Linked DNA regions of Homo sapiens: all the other regions are linked to region 5. The links are contacts of gene promoters, found by promoter capture Hi-C in blood cells and fetal thymus (Javierre and others, 2016). All regions are on one chromosome and are shown on one strand. The core of a region is centred on a gene start or on the middle of the fragment in contact, and the rest is flanking DNA. Distances in the headings are between cores, read along the strand shown. Region 1 holds the start of NOTCH1 (notch receptor 1). Region 2 holds the start of DIPK1B (divergent protein kinase domain 1B). Region 3 holds the start of ENTPD8 (ectonucleoside triphosphate diphosphohydrolase 8). Region 4 holds the start of LCN6 (lipocalin 6). Region 5 holds the start of ABCA2 (ATP binding cassette subfamily A member 2).

What was found. Contacts are between HindIII fragments. The CHiCAGO score rates a contact against its expected background, and 5 or more counts as called.
Region 1: the fragment with the promoter of NOTCH1 here is called in contact with the fragment with the promoter of ABCA2 in region 5 in 5 of 17 cell types (total CD4 T cells, non-activated CD4 T cells, M0 macrophages and 2 more); the score reaches 5.9 in total CD4 T cells.
Region 2: the fragment with the promoter of DIPK1B here is called in contact with the fragment with the promoter of ABCA2 in region 5 in 1 of 17 cell types (fetal thymus); the score reaches 6.6 in fetal thymus.
Region 3: a contact is called between the fragment with the promoter of ENTPD8 here and the fragment with the promoter of ABCA2 in region 5, in 5 of 17 cell types (erythroblasts, M0 macrophages, naive B cells and 2 more). The highest score is 9.9, in erythroblasts.
Region 4: the fragment with the promoter of LCN6 here is called in contact with the fragment with the promoter of ABCA2 in region 5 in 12 of 17 cell types (endothelial precursors, erythroblasts, M0 macrophages and 9 more); the score reaches 10.3 in endothelial precursors.

What each region holds. Positions count from the first base shown.
Region 1 is chr9:136,544,716-136,547,415 of GRCh38, reverse strand. It overlaps NOTCH1 (notch receptor 1), which reads left to right and starts at 1,368. Exons shown (of 34, transcript NM_017617.5): 1 at 1,368-1,690. The coding sequence starts at 1,630. It overlaps MIR4674 (microRNA 4674), which reads left to right and starts at 1,157; the gene lies at 1,157-1,243. RefSeq lists enhancers at 1-511, 2,484-2,533 and silencers at 704-803, 1,144-1,703, 1,724-1,983, 2,204-2,253. The HindIII fragment of the contact is 3,030 bases long and covers 1-2,338 here.
Region 2 is chr9:136,711,292-136,713,991 of GRCh38, reverse strand. It overlaps DIPK1B (divergent protein kinase domain 1B), which reads right to left and starts at 1,420. Exons shown (of 5, transcript NM_152421.4): 1 at 1,264-1,420. The coding sequence starts at 1,326. RefSeq lists an enhancer at 1-757. The HindIII fragment of the contact is 2,091 bases long and covers 1-2,037 here.
Region 3 is chr9:137,439,907-137,442,606 of GRCh38, reverse strand. It overlaps ENTPD8 (ectonucleoside triphosphate diphosphohydrolase 8), which reads left to right and starts at 1,250. Exons shown (of 10, transcript NM_001033113.2): 1 at 1,250-1,321. RefSeq lists a silencer at 1,096-1,390. The HindIII fragment of the contact is 13,084 bases long and covers 429-2,700 here.
Region 4 is chr9:136,747,274-136,749,973 of GRCh38, reverse strand. It overlaps LCN6 (lipocalin 6), which reads left to right and starts at 1,449. Exons shown (of 7, transcript NM_198946.3): 1 at 1,449-1,580; 2 at 2,411-2,550. The coding sequence starts at 1,491. It overlaps LOC100128593 (a long non-coding RNA gene), which reads right to left. Exons shown (of 3, transcript NR_033913.1): 2 at 1,402-2,700; 3 at 63-1,228. The HindIII fragment of the contact is 9,973 bases long and covers 1-2,700 here.
Region 5 is chr9:137,026,906-137,029,605 of GRCh38, reverse strand. It overlaps ABCA2 (ATP binding cassette subfamily A member 2), which reads left to right and starts at 1,369. Exons shown (of 49, transcript NM_001606.5): 1 at 1,369-1,531. The coding sequence starts at 1,466. LINC02908 (long intergenic non-protein coding RNA 2908) reads right to left here and starts at 2,142. Exons shown (of 3, transcript NR_171031.1): 1 at 1,695-2,142. RefSeq lists an enhancer at 484-1,228 and a silencer at 1,112-1,291. The HindIII fragment of the contact is 3,387 bases long and covers 1-2,700 here.

The sequences.
Region 1 (2,700 bases), core at 119-2,618, 480 kb after region 5:
TCCTGGGGCGCTGACCCCAAGATGTTACCCCAGGCCTGCAGAAGTGAGGCCAGATTCTGGGAGGACGCAGGCGAGGGAGGCTCCCAGCAGCAGCTACAGGGGCGGGACAGGCCGCCTGCACTGGCTGTTTCCAGAGTGCTCAGCATTTGGCAAGAGGTGTGCCAGGAAAGGCTTGCTGGGGTCAGGTGTGAGATTTGTCCTGCTTTCTGTGCCTGCCTCTGCCACCATGCTCTGGGGTTTCTGCAGCCCTCCCCCCAGGCCCCCACAGTCCTAGGTCCCTCCCAGCCTTTCGGTCTCCCCGCAGGGCAGGCTTAGCCCTCCTACTCCAGGAGGGGCGCCGGGACACGCGCCTTCTGCCATCGCACTCACCACCCTGTGTTGGGGTGGGGAGGGGGCGCTGTCTGTCCCTGGCACGAGGCCGTGAACTTTGCGCAGGGACTATGGCAGGCATTTTGGACTCCTGGCGCTTAACCAGGCTTGGCACAGGGTGCCCGTGCCTGGCATCGTGGTGGAGAAATAAATCAGCCGGAAGGAGCACGTGGGAAGGGCTGCGCCGGCGCCAGCGGCAGATCCGCCCGACCCGTTTGTGCTTTCTGGGGCCACCTTAGGCAGGCGGCGCCCGGGCAGGAGGAGGACGGTGACCGAGGAGCGTGTCGACGCGGGTCCCCCTTGGGGGAGCGGGGCACAATCCGTCCGCGAGGCACTGGTCCCGGCTGCTCCCTCGGGGCGCCCGGAGTCCCCTGCCCAGAGGCCGCGGCGCCCCCATCCCTCGCGGTCAAGTGCTCGGGCAATCACGGCCAGGGATGTCTGGCGGCGATCGATCCTCTGGACGCCTAAAGCCGCGGCCACGGGGCCCTCGGGAGGGAGTGAAGCCGCTGGGCTAGGGGCGCACACACGGCTAGGCCACTCTCCCAGAGCCCTGCCCCGGGCCCGGGGTCCCCCAACGTGGCCTCAGCTGCTCCCCGCCCGGCCCAGCGCACGGTGCACACGGCTGTCCGCGGCCTCGCCCTCCCCATTCCGCCCCGGGCTCCTCCGCTTATTCACATGCAAATTTCAGTCGCCAGTTGTCGCCGAGCGCGGCAACCGCCAGAGCCGGATCCTTCCGCAGCCCCGGCTCAAACTTTTGGCCTCTGAAAACTTTCAAACGAGAAGTAGTCCCAGGCGCCCGCTCCCGACCCACGCCGCGCCGCCGGGTCCCTCCTCCCCGGAGAGGCTGGGCTCGGGACGCGCGGCTCAGCTCGGGGAGGCGCAAAGGCGGACGGGGCGTGCGGGAGGAGGTGGCCGCGGAGGGGGCGGGGGGACCGGCGGGGGTGGGGCCGGGCGGGGCGGGGCCGGCGGGGGCGGAGCGCACCTCGACTCTGAGCCTCACTAGTGCCTCGGCCGCGGGAGGGAGCGCAAGGGCGCGGGGCGCGGGGCGCGGGCGCGGGCGCGAGCGCAGCGAAGGAACGAGCCGGGCGCGGAGCCGGGCCCGGGGGCCTGCGAGAGCACAGCGCCGCCAGCCAGCCGGGGAAGAGAGGGCGGGACCGTCCGCCGCCGCCCCGGGACCGTACGCCGCGCGTGTGCGTCCCAGCCCCGCCGGCCAGCGCAGGAGGCCGCCGCCCGGGCGCAGAGGGCAGCCGGTGGGGAGGCATGCCGCCGCTCCTGGCGCCCCTGCTCTGCCTGGCGCTGCTGCCCGCGCTCGCCGCACGAGGTAGGCGCCCACCCACCCGCGAGCCCCCACTTTCCGCGCCCTTTGGAAACTTTGGCGGCGCCCGGCGCGCGCGCCCCACGGCTGGGAGCGGGCGGCGGGGAGGCCAGCATGGAGAGGGAAAAGCGGGCGGCCCGGGGCGTGGGGTTCTGGAGTCCCGGGATCAGGGAGGACCGACCTTCCCCCTCGATCCCCCCGTGGAGGCGGACTCGCGCCGCCCGTGCCTGGAGCCGAGTTAGGAGGCCGGTGTGGGGTGCTGGGGCCCCGGAGGCCCTACTCCGGGCCCGCCCTTCACCCGCCGCGCGTGGGGCTTGCCGCCGGTCGGCCGGGCGGGCGGGCTGCCTACTATTTTTCGATTTGAATAGAGTCGGTTTTGGTTTCCTGTTGCTTCTCCGGGCCATTTATCTTCTTTCTTCTTCGCCTCTGGCCCACGCCGGGGCGGATGTTGGGGCGCGGAGTGTGGGCTCTGCGGCGCCGCGTTCGCCTTCACTGACCCGCGCGGCCGGGCTGGGTCCCCGGGCTCCCGGTCGCCCCGCCCGCCGGTGCCCCCCAGCCCGGCTCTCAGTTTGGGGGAGGGGTTGCGTAAGAAGCCGCCGCGCCCGGGGGGACTGAACTTTCCTTTTGCTTTGCGGAGTTGAAGTTTGGAAAGCTTGGGGGCGGAGAGCGGGACGCGGGTGGGGGGCTCTTACATTTCTCCCCGCCGCACAGCGAGCGGGGTCTCTGGGGAATCGAGTGATTAATCCACTCTTTCTCCGAGAGTTGGAGGCGAGAATTATCTGTCCTCTTCCAGAAAGTGCGGCTCTGTGTCACACCCCCCTCCCCCGTTTCTCAGCCCCGGTAAGATGGGGAGGGAGGGGCTTGAGTAATTGATCCCTTCTCGAGATGGGGTCGAATTCCTTCCGAATGGGGGACCTTCATCCCCCTCCTGTGGGTGTATGGGGGCTGCCCTGGAGATGCGCGCCCGCGGAGGCAGGTATTGGGTGTCGGCGGAGGCGGGGCCGCGTCCCCAGGGT
Region 2 (2,700 bases), core at 171-2,670, 320 kb after region 5:
AGGTGGGGACCAGCTCCCGGTGTAGCCACTTGGAGGATAGGGAAGGTCACCCAGGGGATGGGAACAGCACAGTGGTCCTCAGCCCAGCAGGCTCAGACCGTGGGCCAGGAGCCCCACAGCACTAACCCAGAAAAGCAGTTCACAAGGCCAGGAAACTGAGGCCCTCGCCACTAGAGGGGCAGGCTGGGCTCCCACCAGGGCTCTGGCCCCGAGCCAGCCACCCTGGGAGCAGCCAACACCCCTCTGCTGCCATTCCTGGGCGGAGCTCCAAGCATCAGCATCTCTTCTGCAGCTGCTGGTCGAGGCCTTTCCTCGGGGGAGGGGACCACTGTGCACCCCACCTCCCAGCGACTGGGGTGGTCCTCAGACCCCTTAGCTCTCACCCTGCCCCAAGGCTGAGCCGGGACCACCACAACCTGAAGCCCCAAGTGGGCACAGAGGGTCTCGCTGCAATCTGTGGGTTGCCAGGTTCCATACGCTCTTCCCAGAAGGGGAGCTGAGGCCAGCCAGGCCCTGAGCTCAGGCAGGACGCAGGCAGGGTTCCTCCTGCTGACCCAGGACCACCCTGCGGGGGCCGGGGAGATACAGGCAAATCTGACCAGGACTGGCGCCTCCGGCAGATGGCTGGGGTCCTGGAGGGTCTGGGAGGGCATCCCATCCGAGGCCGGGCCCCGGATGATTGGAGCCTGATGGGCCTGGCCTGCATCTCCCCAAAGCAGAAGGTGAAAGGGCTCCTGGCAGCTGGAACCCAAGGCGGCCCGGGCCTCCCCTGCGGACCCGGCCAGGCCCCTGGAGGGGACGGTGGTTCAAGGTCATCCCGGGGTCAGGGCAGGGTCCCCGCGCTACGGCTGGCTGATGGGATGAAGGGGCAGGGGGCGGGGAGGTCATGTCCTTGCCAGGGCGTTTCTGTGCGTCCCAAGTTTTCTACCGCAGAATAACACACCTCATTTTTTAAGTGGAGAAAAGAAGAAAGGACTTCGGTGTGGTTTCTGGGCCTGGGGGGCAGGGACCGCCTGCAGGTCGGGGCGAGGGCCTCCAGGCCGCAGCATCCCCGCGCCCGGACCCTCCTGTCGCCGCCACCGCCCCTCCCCCAGCGTCCCGTCCTTCCGGAGCCACTCGCCCCCTCCCCGCTGCCCACCCCGGGCTCATGAACCCTTCGTGTCCGAACCCGGGGCCCCGCTCCGTACTCGGCCCACTCCGGGGCTGGAGCTCGGCCTCCCCAGGCAGAGGCGGCCGGGGGCGGCGGGCGCGCACCGCGCTTACCTGCAGGCGCTTGGAGAAGGGGCAGAAGAGCACCAGGTGCGCCAGGCGCCGCAGCCGCCGCATGGTGGGCTCCGGCCGGGGCTGCGCGGGCCCCGCGGCTCGCTCGGCCTCAGCCCCGGCCCGGCCCGGCCCGCAGCGGCCGCCGCTCCCTCGCCATGCGGGCCGCGCGCCCCCGGGCCCGCGTTAAAGGCGAGGGCGCGCGCCTTTCTGTCGGCCGACGGCGGCGCGGCGGGGGCGCGCGGGGGAGGGTCGCGGCGGAGGCGCGCGGGGGCGGGGCTTGGCGCGCGGCCCGCCTTCGACCCCCGGCTCGGCTGAGGAGGGGGCGGGCACCGAGGCCCCGCCCACCCGCAGACCCCGCCCCTCATGCAACGGTGCTGCGGGAGGGGCTGGGGGCGCGCGGGATGGGCCGGGAGGCGGAGCCGGGGCCGGGGGCGCGCCTGTCGGGCTCCTGGGCGTCTCGGGGGCTCTTCCCACGCTGGAGAGAGGCCCCGTGCGCTACGCAGGCTGCGGGGTTCAGGGCTCCCCACGCGCGCCCCCGGTTCGAGGCCGCAGAGCCAGGGCTGGTCCTTCCCCTGGGTCCTCAGGATGGGGTCAGACGCGCGGAGCCCTGGGCTGGCCGAGCCTGCAGCCCGCCCCGGGGTCCGACCCTTCCCTCCTGGCTGAGACCCCGCGCCTTGGCCACTCGCCGGGAGGACACTTCCTTCGCCTCCGCGTGGGGTGCTCGGGGATGAGCCGTTGCCGCCTCCATAGGCAGGTTCCGTGTGAACAGAAGCTTTCATTGCACTTCGGTAAACACCTGGGGGGGCTGAGTTGGACGGTGAGGGATGTGGGGCGCAGCCAGCAGCTGCCAAGACTCGCTCCCTCCCCGCGGCCGCCGGCGCTTCCAGCTGCTCCGCATCCCGGGCGGCTCTTGCTATCGGCAGGTTTTTACATTTTAGCCATTTCCCTGGTGGTGGCGTCTCGCTGGGGCTGTGGTTCGCGTGTTTAACACACTTTCTGCGTGTTCAGTTACCACCTGTGTATCTTCTCCAAAGTCTATTCAAGTTTTTGACCATTAATAAAAATCACGTTGTTTCTTTATTATTAAGTTTTGAGACTTATTTACATTTTGGTTTTAATTTTTAATATCTAGAATGAGACTGGGTCTCAGTGTTTTGCCCAGGCTGGTCTCGAACTCCTGGGCTCAAGGGATCATCCTGCCTTGGCCTCCCAAAGTGCTGGGATTACAGGCATGAGTCACCTGGTGCCCAGCCAAGACTTTTTTTTTTTTTTTTTTTTGAGAGGGAGTCTTGCTATGTTGCCCAGGCCGGAGTGGTCTCAAACTCCTGGCCTCAAGTGATCCACCTGCCTCAGCCTCCTAAAGTGCTGGGATTACAGGCGTGAGTCACCATGCCTGGTCCGAGACTTCTTTATATCTTCTGGATATCTGCCCATTAT
Region 3 (2,700 bases), core at 1-2,500, 410 kb before region 5:
TAGCCTGGGTGACAGAGCGAGACTCCATCTCAAAAAAAAAAAAAAAAAAGGACAACTTCCCAGACTCATTTTATAAGCCCAGCATTATCCCCATACAGAAACCAGGACTAAAAAAGAAAACTATGCAACTTTGTTGAACACAACTGCAAAAATCCTCAACAAACACATTTGACTCTTATGACCCATGGCAGCTAGTGTATAAAGTTGCTGCAAACACTGAATTAAAGAATATGCTAAACTATTGCTCCTAAGGGAAATGCAAAGTTCTGTTCCTGCAAGCTTCTGGTCACATTTTTGTTAAATGATCAATATATTAATAAAACCTTCTTTTATGTGTATTTTTGTTTAAGGGCACCTTACTTAATATGTATTGTATCACTAACATTGAACTCATGGCCAACAGCGCTAACTCTTGCACGAATGAAGCTTATCCAATGTGTGTTTTCTCTGTAAAGTGCATCTCAGCCTTCTTGCATTTCTGCACTATGCTGAGACGCCATTATAAACAGTGAAATCACCAAGAAAAAGCACAAAAATGCACACACATGACACCAAATATGCTACCAGTAAAGAGAGTCCCGATTGAGACCCCAAGAGGGTTCTTGGATCTCACACAGAAAGGAATTCACCGCCCCCCCGCATTCCCCCACCCTATTCCCCGCCCCCCAACACCCCCAGCCCCACCCAGCCCGGCCCTGGCTCCGCGCCTCCCCCAGCCCCGCCCCGCTTCAGAGGCCCGGACCCCGACGGCGGCGGCCCCGGGACCCACGGCGAGCGGGAAAGGCAGAGTGGCTGCAAATGGAAAACGACGGGCGCCGCGGGGCTGCAGGCGCTTCCGCCCCCGCCCCGGGCCTGGACCTTCGGGGTCACCTGACTCCGACCTGCCCGGGCCGGGCGGCACGGGGGGTAAAGTCCGGGCCGGGGTCAGGAGCGCGGCTGCGGGCCGTGGGGGGCGGGGTCCCGGAGTTCTGCCCCTCGCAGCTCCAGGCTCCTCCTCAGCTTCCCTCTCCTGCCTCCCACCCCCCCGGGGGCGGGGCGACCCTGGGCACCGAGACAGACCCGCGGGTGGGAGATGCGGGGAGACCCTGGGCGGGGGACCCGAGGGTGGAGTGGGCGGGGCGACCTTGGGCGCTGGCCTCAGCCTGCGGGCCCTGGAGCCAGGTGCACAGCGCATCGCCCGAGGCTGTCACCGCCCTGCCCCGCCCACCCCAGCTGTCCTGGACCCAGGGGCAGGGAGAGGCTGGACGCCAGGTGCGCGGACACAGAAGCGTCTAAGCACAGCTTCCTCCTTGCCGCTCCGGGAAGTGGGCAGCCAGCCCAGGTGAGGGTCCAAAGGGATGTCCTGGGGGGGCTGTCCTGGTCTGGGGGGCTGTCCTGGTCTGGGGGGCTGTCCTGGTCTGGGGGGCTGTCCTGGTCTGGGGGGGCTGTCCTGGTCTGGGGGGCTGTCCTGGTCTGGGGGGGCTGTCCTGGTCTGGGGGACTGTTCTGTCTGAGGGGGTGTCCTGGTCTGGGGGGGCTGTCCTGGTCTGGGGGGCTGTCCTGGTCTGGGGGGCTGTCCTGGTCTGGGGGGCTGTCCTGGTCTGGGGGGGCTGTCCTGGTCTGGGGGGCTGTCCTGGTCTGGGGGGGCTGTCCTGGTCTGGGGGACTGTTCTGTCTGAGGGGGTGTCCTGGTCTGGGGGGGCTGTCCTGGTCTGGGGGGCTGTCCTGGTCTGGGGGGCTGTCCTGGTCTGGGGGGGGCTGTCCTGGTCTGGGGGGCTGTCCTGGTCTGGGGGGGCTGTCCTGGTCTGGGGGGCTGTCCTGGTCTGGGGGGGCTGTCCTGGTCTGGGGGACTGTTCTGTCTGAGGGGGTGTCCTGGTCTGGGGGGGCTGTCCTGGTCTGGGGGGCTGTCCTGGTCTGGGGGGGCTGTCCTGGTCTGGGGGGGGCTGTCCTGGTCTGGGGGGCTGTCCTGGTCTGGGGGGGCTGTCCTGGTCTGGGGGGCTGTCCTGGTCTGGGGGGGCTGTCCTGGTCTGGGGGACTGTTCTGTCTGAGGGGGTGTCCTGGTCTGGGGGGCTCTCCTGGTCTGGGGGGGGCTGTCCTGGTCTGGGGGGCTGTCCTGGTCTGGGGGACTGTTCTGTCTGAGGGGGTGTCCTGGCCTGGGGGGCTCTCCTGGTCTGGGGGGGGGCTGTCCTGGTCTGGGGGGCTGTCCTGGTCTGGGGGGGGCTGTCCTGGTCTGGGGGCTGTCCTGGTCTGGGAATCTGTTCTGTGTGAGGGGGTGTCCTGGTCTGGGGGGCTCTCCTGGTCTGGGGGGGGCTGTCCTGGTCTGGCGGGGGCTGTCCTGGTCTGGGGGGCTGTCCTGGTCTGGGGGGCTGTCCTGATCTGGGAGTCTGTTCTGTGTGAGGGGGTGTCCTGGTCTGGGGGGGCTGTCCTGGTCTCAGGGACTGTTCTGTGTGAGGGGATGTCCTGGCCTGGGGGACTCTCCTGGTCTGGGGGGGCTGTCCTGGTCTGGGGGGGCTGTCCTGGTCTGGGGGGCTGTCCTGGTCTGGGGGGGCTGTCCTGGTCTGGGGGACTGTTCTGTCTGAGGGGGTGTCCTGGTCTGGGGGGCTCTCCTGGTCTGGGGGGGGCTGTCCTGGTCTGGGGGGCTGTCCTGGTCTGGGGGACTGTTCTGTCTGAGGGGGTGTCCTGGTCTGGGGGGCTCTCCTGGTCTGGGGGCACTGTCCTGGTCT
Region 4 (2,700 bases), core at 200-2,699, 280 kb after region 5:
TCCTTCTCAGAGGCCTGGCCCAGCTGCTCGGCTTCCTCCTTTTTGTATTTTTATTTTATTTTAGAGATGGGGTCTTGCTCCATCACCCAGGCTGGAGAGGAGTGGCACGATCACAGCTCACTGCAGCCTCAACCTCCTGGGCTCAAGCAATCCTCCTACCTCAGCTTCCTGAGTAGCTGGGACTACAGGAGCACGCCACCATGTCCAGCTAATTTTTAAACTTGCTTGTAGAGACGAAGTCTTGCTATGTCGCCCAGGCTGGTCTCAAACTCCTGGACTCAAGTGATCCTCCCGCCTCAGCCTCCTGAAGTGCTGGGATTACCGCGAGCAGCCACGGCTCCCTCCTGAAGGCTCCAGGCCTAAGTGTCCCGCTCCCTTGTTCTGTGGCTCAGCCCCTGGGCAACTCCTGCTTGCCATGGCTGTGGCTGGCACCTCCGTGGCCCCACTGCCCGGTCAGTCTTCGCAGGCCCAGCCCCCAGTAGCTGTGTGGTTTCTGCCTTCCTCCTGCACTCTGGTGGTCACAGGCCCTGCTGCGTGGGTACAGGGCAGGTGGCCAGGGCTGCAGCATAAGCTCTGTGAGTGCAGGCGGCCCTGGGCACTGGAGCCTTGTTGCATGGACGTGCTCCTTGCACCCTTGTTGATGAATGAGCGAAGGTGTGTGGGAGTGAATCCCAGAGGGTGCAGGCCACGGCACTGGGGGAGGACCCTCCCGGCTGCCTCCCAGTGGGCTTCAGGGGCTCAGATAGACCCTGCCGAGCACCTCTGTCCTCTGCTCCCGGACTGGGGCTGCAGAGAGCTCTCAAGGGGCCTTGGGAGGCACAAGCAGGCCAGGGTCCCAGGGAGGGGAGGCAGGAGGCAGCAGGGCCGGATGGTGGGCTGCAGAGGTGGAAGGAACAGGACAGTCTGTTCTGGGGGTGCTGGCTGTGGGGGACAGAGGCCAGGCCACAAAGCAGAATGGTGGGTGGGCCAGGAGGAGGTGGGAGCCTTTTTCAAAAGGCTTTCAGGGACTTTTTATATTTAATGATTGAAACAAAAGATATCCAAAACCGCAGTTCCTGAGAACCACTTGTTCTCGCCCTGGTTCCTCTCCTTGGGCTTGACCTTGGCCTCCTGCCGGGCCTGGCAGCGGACAGCAGTCTCCCTGCTTCCCAGGCTGGGCGAGGGAGAGCGTGGGTCCCCAGGAACGGGGGAGGTGGTGCGGCTGGCTTTAGGATGCCCATTCTGGAACCTTCTGGTGGAAGAAAGCAGGGGATCAGTATAGTATGGTTGATCCACACACTCCAGACCCTCTCCTGGCTGTGCAGCTGGTCTGATCTGGGCTCAGAGGCTGCCACTGCTCAGTGCTCCCCTGGGTAATTTTGCAGGAGGCCAGGAGGGTTCCTGGCAGTTAGTGCCACCCACACGGAGAAATTCAGAGCCATATAAACGGGTCTCCAGGGCCTGGAGGGACTGCACATCCTGGGCCTGCGGCGCAGTGTAGACCTGGGAGGATGGGCGGCCTGCTGCTGGCTGCTTTTCTGGCTTTGGTCTCGGTGCCCAGGGCCCAGGCCGTGTGGTTGGGAAGACTGGACCCTGAGCAGGTACAGTCCTCCTGGGGGTGGGGAGAGCTGGTCCTCGGGGGCCAGCCCCTCCTTTAAGGCCACACAGCTTCTGGGCCCCCCAGGGCTAGCCCAGACCAGCATGAGCAGTGGGGAATTAGTTGGGCCAGCCCTTGGGGAGTCCCACAGGCAGGAGCCTCAGGGCAGGAGGGGTGGATGCTGGAGGGTTGGAGGCTGGAGGGCTGGAGAATTGGAGGCTGGAGACTGGAGGTTGCAGGGCTGGAGGGTGTAGGGTTGGAGAACTGGAGGCTGGAGGGCTGGAGGCTGTAGGGCTGGAGAACTGGAGGCTGGAGGCTGCTGGGCTGGAGGCTGGAGGGCTGTAGAACTGGAGGCTGGAGGGCTGGAGGCTGGAGGGCTGCAGAACTGGAGGCTGGAGGGCTGGAGAGCTGGAGACTAGAGGCTGCAGGGCTGCAGGCTGGAGGTTGGAAGGCTGGAGGGCTGGAGCCTAGAGGCTGTAGGGCTGGAAGGCTGGAGGCTGGAGGGTTGGAGGTCTGGGGGGTTGGAAGCTGGAGGCTGGAGGGCTGGAGAACTGAAGGCTAGAGGCTGCAAGGCTGGAAGGTTGGAGGCTGGAGGGCGGGAGGGTTGGAGACTGGAGGCTGGAGGGCTGGATGGTTGGAGGGTGGAGGCTGGAGGCTGCAGGGCTGGAAGGCTGGAGGCTGGAGGGTTGGAGGCTGGAGGCTGGAGGGCTGGATGGTTGGAGGGTGGAGGCTGAGGCTGGAGGTTTGGAGGCTGGAGGCTGAGGCTGGAGGGTTGGAGGCTGGAGGCTGGAGGCTGGAGGGCTGGCGGCCCTAACGGGAGCCGCCTCAATGCAGCTTCTTGGGCCCTGGTACGTGCTTGCGGTGGCCTCCCGGGAAAAGGGCTTTGCCATGGAGAAGGACATGAAGAACGTCGTGGGGGTGGTGGTGACCCTCACTCCAGAAAACAACCTGCGGACGCTGTCCTCTCAGCACGGGTGAGTGGGCGGGTCCTGCCAGGCCTTCCCGCAGGCAGGACTGTGGCTCAGCCACATCATGTACTTTGCACATCTGCTCCCGGGCACCGCGGCCTGGGGGCTTCCCACGGCCCCTCTGCACCCCCGTCACTTTTCCCACTGGGCTCTGTG
Region 5 (2,700 bases), core at 120-2,619:
TCCCAGGCCCGCAGGCTGGAGGGTGTCTGGGGTGACAGGGTCTGACCTGTGCCTTGTAGCTCCCTCTGGTGGCCAGTGCTGGGGAGGCACTGGGGATGCGGCTGCAGCCAGGGAGCCCCTGTAGTGGACGGTGGAGAGTGGGGCGAGGAGGAGAGAGGCCAACCCACGGGTGGTGCTGACCAGGGCCCCAACAGGCTAAGCCCCCGGGGCTGGGGCACAGGGCTTGTCCCTACCCCAGGTAGGGGTGGGCAGGTTGAGGGCAGGAAGCCCCCCTCACCCATGGCTGTGGCTTGTGGGAAAGACCTGCTGGTAGCTTCCTGCCCTGACCCAGCCCTGTGGACTGAGCAGAGAAAAGCAAGTGCCTTGAGGCTGCGGGCTGGGGTGGGAAGCTGATCCCTCACTCACTAGCCCAGGGTCACCTTCCTGCTGCAAAGGAGCTGGGAGGAGTGGGGAGCTGTGGCCTCGGAGGTCTTCATTCACTTGAGGATGCGCCTTCTATGTGCGCCCTGACACTGGACACCACACAGCGCTACTCCACCCCATTCACAGGGGGGAAACTGAGTCTGGGAAGCGCCGTCAGAGCCACCCATGGGGTCAGCCTGTCCTCTGTCGCTCTCTACAGGCCACGCGGAGGAACTGCCCCACCTCCCGGGGCGCCCCAGCAGGTGCCAAGCCACAGCCGCAGAACCGCCTGATCCCGAACTCCCTGTGCAGAGACCAGACTCGCCCGAATATGGGGAGAAAAACGAGCCGCGTGCAGCAGGGGCCGCCTCGGTCCCCTGCCTGCTCCGCTCACGGCGAGCGTTCCTGGGGCCTCGAGTTTCCCCCCTTCCGCTGGCTGCTCGGAATCGCGGGACGGACCCACCTGGCCGCCCTGCCTCCCTTCCAGGTGGGCACCACCTGGACTCCAAGTGCTGGTTTACAAAGCACACAGGAGACCCTTACGGGGGTGAGCTGGCCCCTCGCCAGCGTCCGCTCGGCGCGCCCCGGGGACAGTGAAGGCTTGGGGCGCCTCTGCAGAGTCGCCAGCGCGGTGGGCGCAGCCGGATGCCTCTGGGAGAAGAGCGCAGCGCCCGAGGGTCCCCCGGCCTACGAAGGCTAAGCCGGGGTCTCGGATTCGATGTGGGCGCGTCGCGTGACGCCCGGCGAGGGGCGGCCCGGAGGCTTCCCGGCGGCGGCGCGCGCAGGGTCTCGGGCCCGGGTCGGTCCCGGGCGCGGCGCGGGCGGCGGGCGCCTCCTGGCGGGCGCGGACGGAGCGCGGCGCCTTTAAGCGGGGGCGGGCGGGGCGCGGGCAGAGTCGCTGTCGCCGCGGCCGCCGGGGCGGAGCCAGCGCGGATCGGGTCCCGGACGCCCGAGCGCCCCGCCCCCGCGCGGGCGATGCCCAGCGGCGCGGCGGGCTGCGGGGCCCGGCGGGGCGCGCAGAGGAGCGGGCCGCGGCGCTGAGGCGGCGGAGCGTGGCCCCGCCATGGGCTTCCTGCACCAGCTGCAGCTGCTGCTCTGGAAGAACGTGACGCTCAAACGCCGGAGCCCGGTGAGCCCACCCCACGCGCCCGCCCTCAGCCCGAGGCCGCGCGCACCGCGGCCAGAGGCGCGCTCCCCGCGCGCACGTGCGGACGGCCGGGCGCGCGCAGACCCCGGCGGGCGCTGGGGGCGGCGCGGGCCCGAGCCCCCTCCCCGCCGGGCCCTGCCCTCGCCTGCCGGCGCTGCGGCCTCCGGGGAGGTGGCTCGGTCGTGTCCAGTCCGGTCCCGCGTCCGCTGACATCGCGGTGCTCGGCTGAGTCACGGCACCCGCGCCCTCTGCAGCGCGCTCGCTGGGGCCGCTGTGGGCGGGGGGCAAGCGGCGCTCAGGACTCTGGCTCGAGGGAGGCCCTGGTTCCCAGGACAGAAGGCAGGCCTGGGGGGCTCCATTCAGCTGCGAGGCTCCATGGTCCTTGGGCCCAGCCTCCCTGGGGTCCCGGAGGAGACCCTGTCCCTTCCCTCCGTCCACCCCTCCCCTGCCCTTGGGCCGCGGCCTGCCATAGAGGTTGGTCCCAGGCATCTCTCCGCCTCCCCTCCTGGCACATCCGTGACCCTTGCTCATGCTCTCGCCACTGGGAATGTCCTTGTGCCAGCCTTGGCCAGCCTGAATCTCTGCACCCATTTGTCCTTTGGGGTCAGTTCTCCCCGAGCCTGATCCACTCTGTTGCCTCCTGGTCCCCCCACCTGCTCTGGGGGCTGGGTCTACTGTTTGGAGCTGTGAACCCCGGCTTTCCCAGCACTGCCTGGGCAGCCAGTGGACCTGAGGGTGCAGGACACATGGCTGTCAGGGACAGAAGTCCTTCGTGGAGCGAGGGGCTTGGGGATATGGGTGTCCTGCCATACCCCCAGCTGGCCAGCTTGGCTCCAGCCTGGGAAGGGAAGGGACACCTCCCAGGCCACAGGCCTGGACCAGCTTAGGTTTCTGAAGGCCCTTGGGATTGTCCAGGCCAGGGCTCAGAGCAGGTGGGGGCCTAAGGCAGACATCCTCTTGCCCAGCCAGGGCCCGGGCGGGACCCCTTGGGCTGCACCAGTCCGTGCCTGTTTATCTTTCAACATGCACTGCAGGAAACCCAGGCTGCAGTCAGCTGGGGTGGCCATCATCACCATGGCTGGCAGAATTCCCCTGGGCACCTGGCCTTGGCGGGGAGCCTGGGTTAGGTACATGCCCTGGCCAGGCACCTG